Linked DNA regions of Homo sapiens: all the other regions are linked to region 1. The links are contacts of gene promoters, found by promoter capture Hi-C in human tissues and cell types (Jung and others, 2019). All regions are on one chromosome and are shown on one strand. Each heading gives the region's core, a stretch centred on a gene start or on the middle of the fragment in contact. The rest is flanking DNA. Distances are from core to core; before and after follow the strand shown.

What was found. Contacts are between HindIII fragments. The study calls those that stand out against the background at their distance.
Region 2: a contact is called between a fragment that was not itself captured here and the fragment with the promoter of ZNF365 in region 1, in 1 of the 25 tissues and cell types used here (hippocampus).
Region 3: a contact is called between a fragment that was not itself captured here and the fragment with the promoter of ZNF365 in region 1, in 2 of the 25 tissues and cell types used here (dorsolateral prefrontal cortex and hippocampus).

What each region holds. Positions count from the first base shown.
Region 1 is chr10:62,372,680-62,375,827 of GRCh38, forward strand. It overlaps ZNF365 (zinc finger protein 365), which reads left to right and starts at 1,690. Exons shown (of 5, transcript NM_014951.3): 1 at 1,690-1,779. LOC283045 (a long non-coding RNA gene) reads right to left here and starts at 2,448. Exons shown (of 4, transcript NR_104162.1): 1 at 2,192-2,448. The HindIII fragment of the contact is 5,251 bases long and covers 1-3,148 here.
Region 2 is chr10:62,052,890-62,056,037 of GRCh38, forward strand. All of the region lies in intron 5 of ARID5B (AT-rich interaction domain 5B), which reads left to right. Among named protein-coding and RNA genes, the nearest start is that of ARID5B, 150 kb to the left of the region's middle. RefSeq lists an enhancer at 1,796-1,915. The HindIII fragment of the contact is 5,484 bases long and covers 1-3,148 here.
Region 3 is chr10:62,072,930-62,076,077 of GRCh38, forward strand. The region is part of intron 8 of ARID5B (AT-rich interaction domain 5B); the gene reads left to right. Among named protein-coding and RNA genes, the nearest start is that of ARID5B, 170 kb to the left of the region's middle. The HindIII fragment of the contact is 3,530 bases long and covers 1-3,148 here.

The sequences.
Region 1 (3,148 bases), core at 440-2,939:
GGGCGGGGGGGAAGGGAGGACCAGAGCATGCTTTTGTTATGTTTTGCCATGAAGGCAGTGGGTGTAAGAGGTTAACCTGCAGGCACCTCACAAGATGACGGAGATAACTTGGCACTCCAATGAGTGTATCTTTCAGACTTTAAGATTTTGTACTAAATAAATTGATTCTTGGAATAGTCTTGAGAGCGAGTCAAAAAGTAACTTCAATGAGATATAATATTTTCAAAGCAAACACACCCCAGCACAATAGCCTATCTCCATTTACGTAGAAGTTAGTACATATTAATTCCTCTTCTCCTTCCTGCTTTTTAAATGTGTGTAGGCCCCTTTTTTATGGAATTAATAATAATTATAAATGAAGTAGCAACAACGATAACAGCTGACTTTATCAGTGTGTGTCCCTGTCAGGCAGGGTTTTTACCTCCATCATCATAGCACATTCGATCCACCGCTATATTAAGAGGTAGGTCTTGATTATCTTCATTTCATAGATGAGGAATTGAAGGAACAGAAAAGTCTAGTTACTTGACCCAGGCCCTAGAACCAGGATTTGAATCAAGTCTGATGCCAGAGCTTGGGATCTTCATTGCATTTGATGTGATAATTCATTTGTGAAAAAACAAAGCAATTCATTTGTTTTCATTTGTCAAAAACAAAACAAAATTTCAACTAAGATAACTGTTGAGCTCTTTACCGTTAAAATAAAATCGGGTGTTGAAATGAGTAACAGCAAGCCTTGAGAAAAGACACCCTGAGAAGTCAAGAGGATGCATTAACTGTCTACAGATGAACAGAATCTCTTCTCTTCTTTGAACAAGAAAACCCAGCAGTAACTTTTATCTAGGTTTCACATTTCAGGAGTTACAGTAGGGGTAAACCAAAACAGGTTAAAAAAAAAAAAAAAAAAAAAAAAAAGCAAAAGCCCAGCAAGCTGAGACATCAGAGTCCTTCAGAAGGAATGATTTGCCGTCTTCTCTTCAGGACATCCCCTCTTTAGGAGGACAAATTTTTTCTCCAGGGAAAGGGGCGTCCGCCTCAGAAATGGGGGTGTAGGTGAGGGATCTTGTTGCTTTAACTGTTTGTTCATTAATCCCTGCACTTTACTAGATTTAGTTCTGCCTGTTAACGTAGCCTCAGGACACTTGGCTAGGAAGGCTGGAGTGTACTCTCTGGGTTAGTTATTTTGGGACATTCTCGCCCTGCTGCTTGGGATGAAGAGGTCCTAATTAAATACCCGGACCTTCCAACGGGTAGATTTTCAAAGAAGATGCCCAGCTATGCTGCATCCTCATCCACACTCTCCCGCTCCCCCCAAACTAGTGCAAAAAAGCTTGCCAGGGCCTGCAGAAAGCGCCGCGACTGCGAGGCTGACACGCGTCTTTCCTTCCCTCCCCCGGGGAATGATCCCAGCATCTCTCGCAGTGATGTCAGTGTAATCCTGAGTCGGATCGGGCTCCCGGCTGGGTGGCGGGGGGGCAGATGATGCTCCCGCCAGCTGGGCAGAGCAAGGGTGTTCCCCGCGGAGGTGGCAGCCCTGGGCCGCGGCGTTCCGGAACCCCCGCACCCACGGCGCGGTGCCCCACGGTGCCCGCGAGCGCCGCCCCCGCTGGCTAGCCGCGCCTCGCTCCGCCCTGGACGCCGCCGGTCCCGGCGCGGAGGTGCGGCGGGGAGTGGGAGCCGGCCCGGCTCAGTCTGATTTACGGCTCTGCTGAAAACCGCTTCGCTCCCGCAGCATCAGCACCGGAGGCGGCGGCTGCAGCAGCAGCAGCAACAAGTCGGGTAAGAGGCGGCCGCCGGCCATCTGCGCCCGCGGCTCGGCGGAGGGGACCTGCCGGGGTGGCCGGGGCTGGGGAGGGGGTCCCCGAGCCCGCAGCATGGCGGGGAGTTGGGAGAGCCGGCTTCCCGGCCCCCACCAGCAGGAACTCATGTGCACACGAATCCACTCTGGCACCCGTGGGCTGGCACGCAGCGGAGAGGGGGCGGGGAGAGCTGGGACCCCGGGGCAGGGTCATTGCCAGCCTGCCCTTCTCTGGCAGAGTCACTTAGGGCTCTTCATCAGCCCAGTGGACTGGGTTTCCTCTGGGCCCATAAAAGCCTGCGTGCTCTGGAGTGTGTGATTACCCATTTCCCCATCCAAAATGCCACCCTTTTCCCATTGCCCCCTTAGAATCCTGACTTCCCCTTTCCTTACCTCTTGTCAGCGTCTTTGGCCCTATGCTGAGCCAGGGTTTGCATCTCGTTCCCAGAAAACCAGTGGTTAAACATCCCGGTGTACCCATCACAGGAAGAGGTTCCCCTCTCTGGGGGCCGGGGGCTTCACCTAGAAGCCTTGCCTGCCTCGCTGCCTGGGGACCATTTGCACCTCTGCTTTTGAAGAGGTTGAGGACACTTTTCACCCAAAGACCCCAGCTGGGCTCCCTCATTTCGGGTCCAATGCTTGTTACATTTAAGTAGAAACCTTTCATGGAGGAATAGAAGATATGCACTGCTTGCAGAATTGGGTTGCCAACAGTCATCTGTTGCTAGGGTGAAGATAATGCATTCCTACAAGGAAACCAGAACTTCCTGTTATTAAGAGAGTATGCTGATACCTACCTGGTTCACACACTGACCATCCCTAGAGGTTGTCATATAAAATAGCATCTGAGACAAGACAAATCCGTCCAGAACACTCTATTATAATAAAAATCTTGGCCATGGCCCCACTTATGCCAAATGGTATTTGACACATTGGGTCCCCAGGTTTCAGTGAAACTCACGTATGGGGTCTGTTATTGTTACGATTAGCACTTTGGTTTATGTCATCACAGCAATACCTGAAGGAAAAAAAGGCAAAAATTTCAGGGTGAAAAATTTTCAGCTGATTGCAGGCTTAATGCCACTGTGCATAGCTTGAGTAATCTTTCCTGTACTTGAGGATAGGTCCTGAGCTTGCTGTCTTAGGACCCATTTTGACAATTCATGTGAGTTTTCATATGTTCTTGTGTTCACGCATCTCGGATTGTATCCTTAAAATGGGGCACGGTTTTGCATTTAGTGTGCCAAATTCAGGAGGGGAGGAAACTTGAATTCCACTTCTGGATCTACCACTTTCCATCTGACCTTGGATTAATGGCTTTACTTCCTTGCTTCAGTGTTCTCTTCTGTG
Region 2 (3,148 bases), core at 209-2,708, 320 kb before region 1:
GACTGGTCTAATGGCTTGGCTCTTTTCAGAGTCTTGGATTACAGTCATGCCTTGGCTGCTTCCAGTGGGTCTGGCAAGACCACTTAAGCAAAAAGATCAGTAGGTATGAAGTGTGACGAGCTTGTCTGTTGACACCAACAGGCAGATGTAAAATCCCTACAGAATGAACAAGCCACATCTGGGATGAGGACAGTCATTAAAAAGCATGTGTGTCTTAACATGGTCTTTTCTCATGAAACACTGCAGTAGAGATTATGAGTCTGTGACCATCTAATCATCTGTTGAATTGAAAGCAGCATCTTAGAGGACAGTGAGCTGTTTGACTTTGTGACCAAGACCCATGTGACTGTTTCTTTTTAAAAGTGCCTCAAACAGACCATTTCTAACTAAGCACCAACTTCATGCAGCTCCACACAGCAAAGCTCTTAGAGTGGGACCCACTGGGTTTGTTGTGTTCATGACTGGAAAAATAAGTCAAGTGATTTGCCGGTCGCCATCAAAACGTTGCACTCCCTCAATGAGAACATGAAAACCAGCTTTGCAAGACCATGTTTTCCAACGGAGAGAGAATTACATGGCTCCCCAAAGACAGCAAGTGTCACGTGGGGAGGAAACTACCAGTTCTTTGAAGATCTCATGACTGTGTTCAGCCCAAATCCTGCCATTTTTTTCTGGAATAATCTTAAAGCAGTGAACCTGAGGCCCAGGCCTTTCATAGAGTGATCTATAACAGAAATCTTCATGGCATAGGACCCTAATAAAAGGCCTACATTGATAGAAGGCAAATTATTTTTAATATCCCGTATGCATTTTCTGAAGGGCAGAAGTGTATTACAGGTGGTTTATATTCTAAAAGGAACACAAAAAAGGAAACTGTGGTGGGAAGTGTGTTCATTTAAACCATAAACATACTTTCTATATTTCACAAATGTGATACTTTCATTATTTTCAATATTTTTCCTCTCATTTGGTCCTCAGAACTATTCCCAGGGATTATCATTTTTGCTTTACTAAGGTAGAAACTGAGGGTCACCTAGCAAGTTAGCAACCAAACCAAGATTAGAACTCTAGCTTTTTGTATTGCTGGTTCAGCACATCTTACTGCCCCAGTTGAAGGCTGGATTAGTTATAACTCAATCCCGTGGAAGGATGTGGTTAATATCAAATAGGTGGTGGATCATTGAAAACGTTAAATGTTGATTCTTTAATTAGCACCTCCTCAATCATTTTGGAAACCCCAAAGTACTTAGTGAACTCAACAGGTGTATGGTGTTCAGGTCAGGAAAAACAGATCTAGTAATTAACTGTCACCATCAAAAGGCTGGGCTTTCTTAGGTCAACATGAAGACTAGCTCCCATTTCCACTACCACCTGCACTGTAATAATTTAATAGATTGAAATGCTGAGAATGCTTTGGGTAAATGTAAAAACATACAGAAAGGAACTTGATTTAGTCCTACCCAGAATCAGAATAATACCCTAAAGAGCTCATTTATCTTAACTGAAAAAAAAAAATATCAAGCTAGAACAAGAAAAGAAGCTTCTGTTTACTTGTTCACTTCTTACTAAGTACCTGGCCTCCCCAGGAGCAGCATGCTGGCAAGCCCACTGAGATTCAGGACAGAGTTCAGTAGGCAGCAGCCTGGCTTCATTTGGAGCCTTTGCTATGTAGCAGGGAGTCTGGGTTACTTTGGACCTGGTTCATGCACCCCTCTGTGTCTTCTTTCTGTTTCTGAGTGTTTCTACACAGATGAGGAAGAGGGTTAAGCAGCTCTCTACACACCAAGGAGCTCAAACCTTATTCTCCTTTTAACAGTGGTTCTTCTGACCTAATAATATAGGTAGTTGGCCCATTATCACTGCAAATTTAAGACTCAGTCAGTTTTGTACACAAACCTGAGAGATCTACTCCTTTATGTTATAAAATTGGGGTTTGGAGTGGGGCAGACCTGAGTTCTAAACCCAGAGGTCTGCCCCTTCCAAACCATACATGACCTCACTAAGCTCTAGTTTCCTCAACTGTAAAATGTGGCTAAATATCTCCCTTTTACAATTCTCAGGAACATGAAGGTAGAGTATGTGAAGCCCACAGCACTGTATCTAGCTCATTGTAGGTGCTCAATTGAAAACTGATTTCCTTCCCCTTTGCTCAATATACAATAGGAGGAATGGAGCTCCTTGACACATTGGAAACCCCCTAGATTTGTCTTTTGCTTTTCATTTGATAAATCACATTTCTAAGTGGTAGGTTTCGTAATGCCTGGTAATAAGATAGGCTTTTTAATTAGAAGTTTGTTTTCATTACCAATTTAATATTTGTATTAAGAGTGTCAGAAAAGTATAACATTTAAAACCATAAGCCCTAAAGTAAGGCTGCCTGGGCTTAAATTCCAGATTCCCCACTTACTAACTAGGGCATGATCTTGTGATGTTGTACATGCTGCTCATCCTGTCTACCTCCGTTTCCTCATTTCTAATACGAAAATAATAACTACCTCATTCGGGTTTTAAGTTTGAAATAACACATAAACAGCGTTGAGAATGGAGCCTGGCTGCCCAGGAAACACTCAGGAAGGGGTGGGAGGCAATACAAATTAAAACTGGAGTGATGTTATGATTTCAAGAAGCCATTAAATTATAGATTTCATCAGAACTTTAGATCCAACAGCCTAAAATTTGGCAGTGAAAAATGATGACAACATAAAGTTTCACGGGATGTTCGCCTTCATATAATGTTAGAGAGTACAAAATCTACATGGGAAAATTGTTTTAGTCCCATTTCCATAGCCCCTTAAAAGTTAAAATCCTACCTAGAAGCCCCATTGAATCAGTTTCAGAGGAAGTTTTATCTTTGCAGGACCAGTCGAAAGATATTAAACTGTATGTGTTCACTTGAGAGAATAAGCAATGAAGAACTCCTGCAGAGAATGTACTTTCCTTTACTAAATAAGCATAGTCTTTTATGTTCTTAATGCTTAGGAAGGAGGAGCTGCAGGGAAAGAAAAAGGTTCGAAATCCTGTAATGGACAGCATTGTAGAATATGTGGGACATTTTTATTCGTAACATTTCCCCAGCACTTGCCCTCTTCTCTCCCGATGTCAGTTACGGAGATGTAAAGAATATTGGAATGTACACATTCCCCATGGG
Region 3 (3,148 bases), core at 330-2,829, 300 kb before region 1:
AAAACTTCATGATTATGGTGGATTTCATTCATTCTTGCTAGTCACAGGTTGCATGAACAGATAAAACAGAGATGACTGGATTGGTGAAGGAACACTGTTTTCAAGAAGGGTCAATGAGTTGAGAATGGTCAGGACTTTGTGGGCAAATATCTAGTCTGGAAATGCCCTTGGAATTTTGTAAAGCCTTCCAAACCAAATCAGGATGATGAGAGCTCTTCCTACTAGGCTGCGGGTTCTTCTGTTCTCATTCTTTTCACTCCGATAAAGAGAACTGCTCTTTTTCCTATTTCCCTGCCACCAGCTTTGCTTTCCTAGAAGATGAAGAAGTGAGTGATCTCTATGCATTATCCACTGATTTATTTTTCATGCACTGTGGTTCATGTTTCCAGTAAACGTTTTCATTTTACAACAAGAAAAATGTAGCCAGTTCCTCAGTAAAATGTTACTTGTATATTAGTTGAGCACTTTTGGTTTATTAATGAGTGCAATAATGAAAGTGTGGGTTGTTGAAAAGAATCAATGGGTGTTTTTATTTAAGGCAAAGCAGAAATGGTACAATGCTTGTGAATACATCATTGTCACTGAAGGCCTGACTCGTACAAACTTGCCTCTGATTGGTTTAAATCAAATAGGTCCAAGCACTTCATAAAAATGTCTTTGTCAGCCGGGTTTTGCTTCCAAATCTATTCATCTCTGTCAGTTTTTAATATTAGTACCAGGCTCCTGGCCATAGTCCATTAGTACTGTACTTAATTGCTCATGTTACAGATGATTACCAATATAAAAAGCATTAATGTTTTCCCATCGCAAGGCTGTTGCTATGTAGATGTCTCAAACTCAGCAAAGCTTATGAAATGTGGTTATTCTGGACATTTCTTGCTCAGGATTTATAGATGAAGTTACTGTAGCTTTTGATGCAAAGAAAAATACCCACCTCATTCTTTCTAAGTGGAACATTTTCTTTCTTGTCTAACTCTTTACTTAAAAGTAACCAGTTCACTTTATTTTTATCAGTAAAGGAACAAAAAGGAAAACGACTACTTTTATGGAATTCTCTTAGCTTGATTTTCTGGAATAGTAAATCACTTTAAAGGCTTTGTTTTCACATGCAGATTTCCCTTTTTAAAAAATGTTTTTAAAGTCCATGCAGGGGGAAAAAAATCTTTACTCAGAATGCTAGATTACTGGTTTTAATTTTCCTGAATAAATTACATGGTCTGTTTCTGTGGAGCACATGAAGTTGTTATTAGGGATTTTAAAAGGAGCATTAAAGCAAAAGTACTTTATGATGTGCATTTTTGAGTATTTAGAAAATCAAAATCATAAACAAATGTATTTGTTTGTGAGGGAAATTAGCAACTATTCTTCATCTTCTTGCACACATAATGCCTAATTTCAAATCCAACCTTTTGCTTTTACCATAAGCATTCCTTGGACAAGATTGTCACCCTGCATGGCTGAGGCAGCTTTCTTTGCAGGGACTTAAGGTGAGCTGTACCCAAGCCAGATGTACTTGGGCAGATACTGGGTGATAGCTGGAGCTTCTGCCTTTTTTCTCTGAAGGTATAAGGTAGAGTGTGGGAGGCTTCATGTTTTGAATAAGATAAGCATGTGCTTTAAGTTAAGGACCAAAAATATATCAGGTTCTAAGGAACCCACCTAATCATACCATGGATAAAGGCTGGGGAAGGAAAGGTGAGTTACAGTTCTGTGCACATCAAGGACATGATTCCATGTATTCTTGCTCATTTGGACACCCTTGGAGTTAATAGATACGCAATTCAGAAAGTCACAGGCCACATCTCAGAATTGTATATTTAAGAGGACCCCTAGCAACTCCCTAGACCAGTGCTACTCAAATGAGATTTTCTGACTTGTCCATGAACTGTTTTCTACTAGCCCATAACAAGCTAATAAGCACAGCAATTGCGAATAAGCATTGATACACTTACGCTGAAATTTGCCAGAATAACATTATGTCTGTTGAAGCTAATAAAAACTTGGGGCTTGTGTTTTGTATGCCTCCTTTTGAATTCCATTTTTCTAGTAATTCATTTTTATGGTTGTTTACAAAAGCATCAGTCAGCATCAGATGGGAAATTTAGAAAACTCGTCTTTCACCCAGGTCAGTGGAGAAGGTCCGCTCCTACATCTTGGCCACAAACTCAGATATTTATGGAGGCAGGTAGCAAAGATGAGTGCAGGGGCCACGGCTGGAAAGTGTGAAACTGGCACGCACAGCCCGGGCCAGAGAGCCCAAAGGGACCAGCCCACACTGTTGCTGTAGGTAGATGCCGTCTGTGCGCTTCCTGACCTTCTATGTTTTCAAGATATTTTTTTAATGTGAAATAACCTAACTTACAAACACTGGCTCCAATATTTAAAAAAATATTTTATATAAGCTAAATCAAACATGCCCAGGGGCAAAATATAGCCTACAGGATGCCAAGTTCCACAAAGACTGAAATATGCTTGACACTAGGCTCTCCAGCCTCTGATACAGCGCCCTGCAGTGGGAGGGCCTAGAGGAAGCTTCAGGGTTCCAGGCGCTCTTACTCTGCTCTACACACTCTTCCGTGTGCTGAGCAAAACACCCTCTGTGGCTTCCCATTGACCTTGCCTTGCCTTCGGAGGACGACTCGCCACATGTCTGCTCCCTTTGCTCTGATCAGCGTCCAGGAGCTTGTCAAAGCTCCTCTTTCACTTCAGGTCTTCCTGTTCCATTCAACCAAGCCTCAGAGCGTCAGTAATGGACCTTCACCAGCTCGGCTTGCTCTCATGCAGGCGCCTCCAGTTTGTGTCACTCAGAATACCCAAAGCTACTCCAGATGTGGCATGTAGTATTTCTCAGGATGCGGGCAGTGTCAGTCTATCAACACAGCCTAAGATTACATTTGGAATGGGCAAGAAGCCCTCTCCTACTGGCCTGTTGCATTTTCTTGGATAGGATAGATTTGCCATTTGATTAACTGTCTTTTTTATTTACTGCTGCCCTCAAAACCCAATCGGTGTTTTTTGGACATCTGCCATGTGCAGAGAGCACTCTCAGGGGTAATGAGAACATATAAAGCAAAGAGTTGAGAATTGGCTGGCAAACAATGAGGAGGTACCCTTGCCACCACATTCATAGCTGAGATTGCTAAAGGAA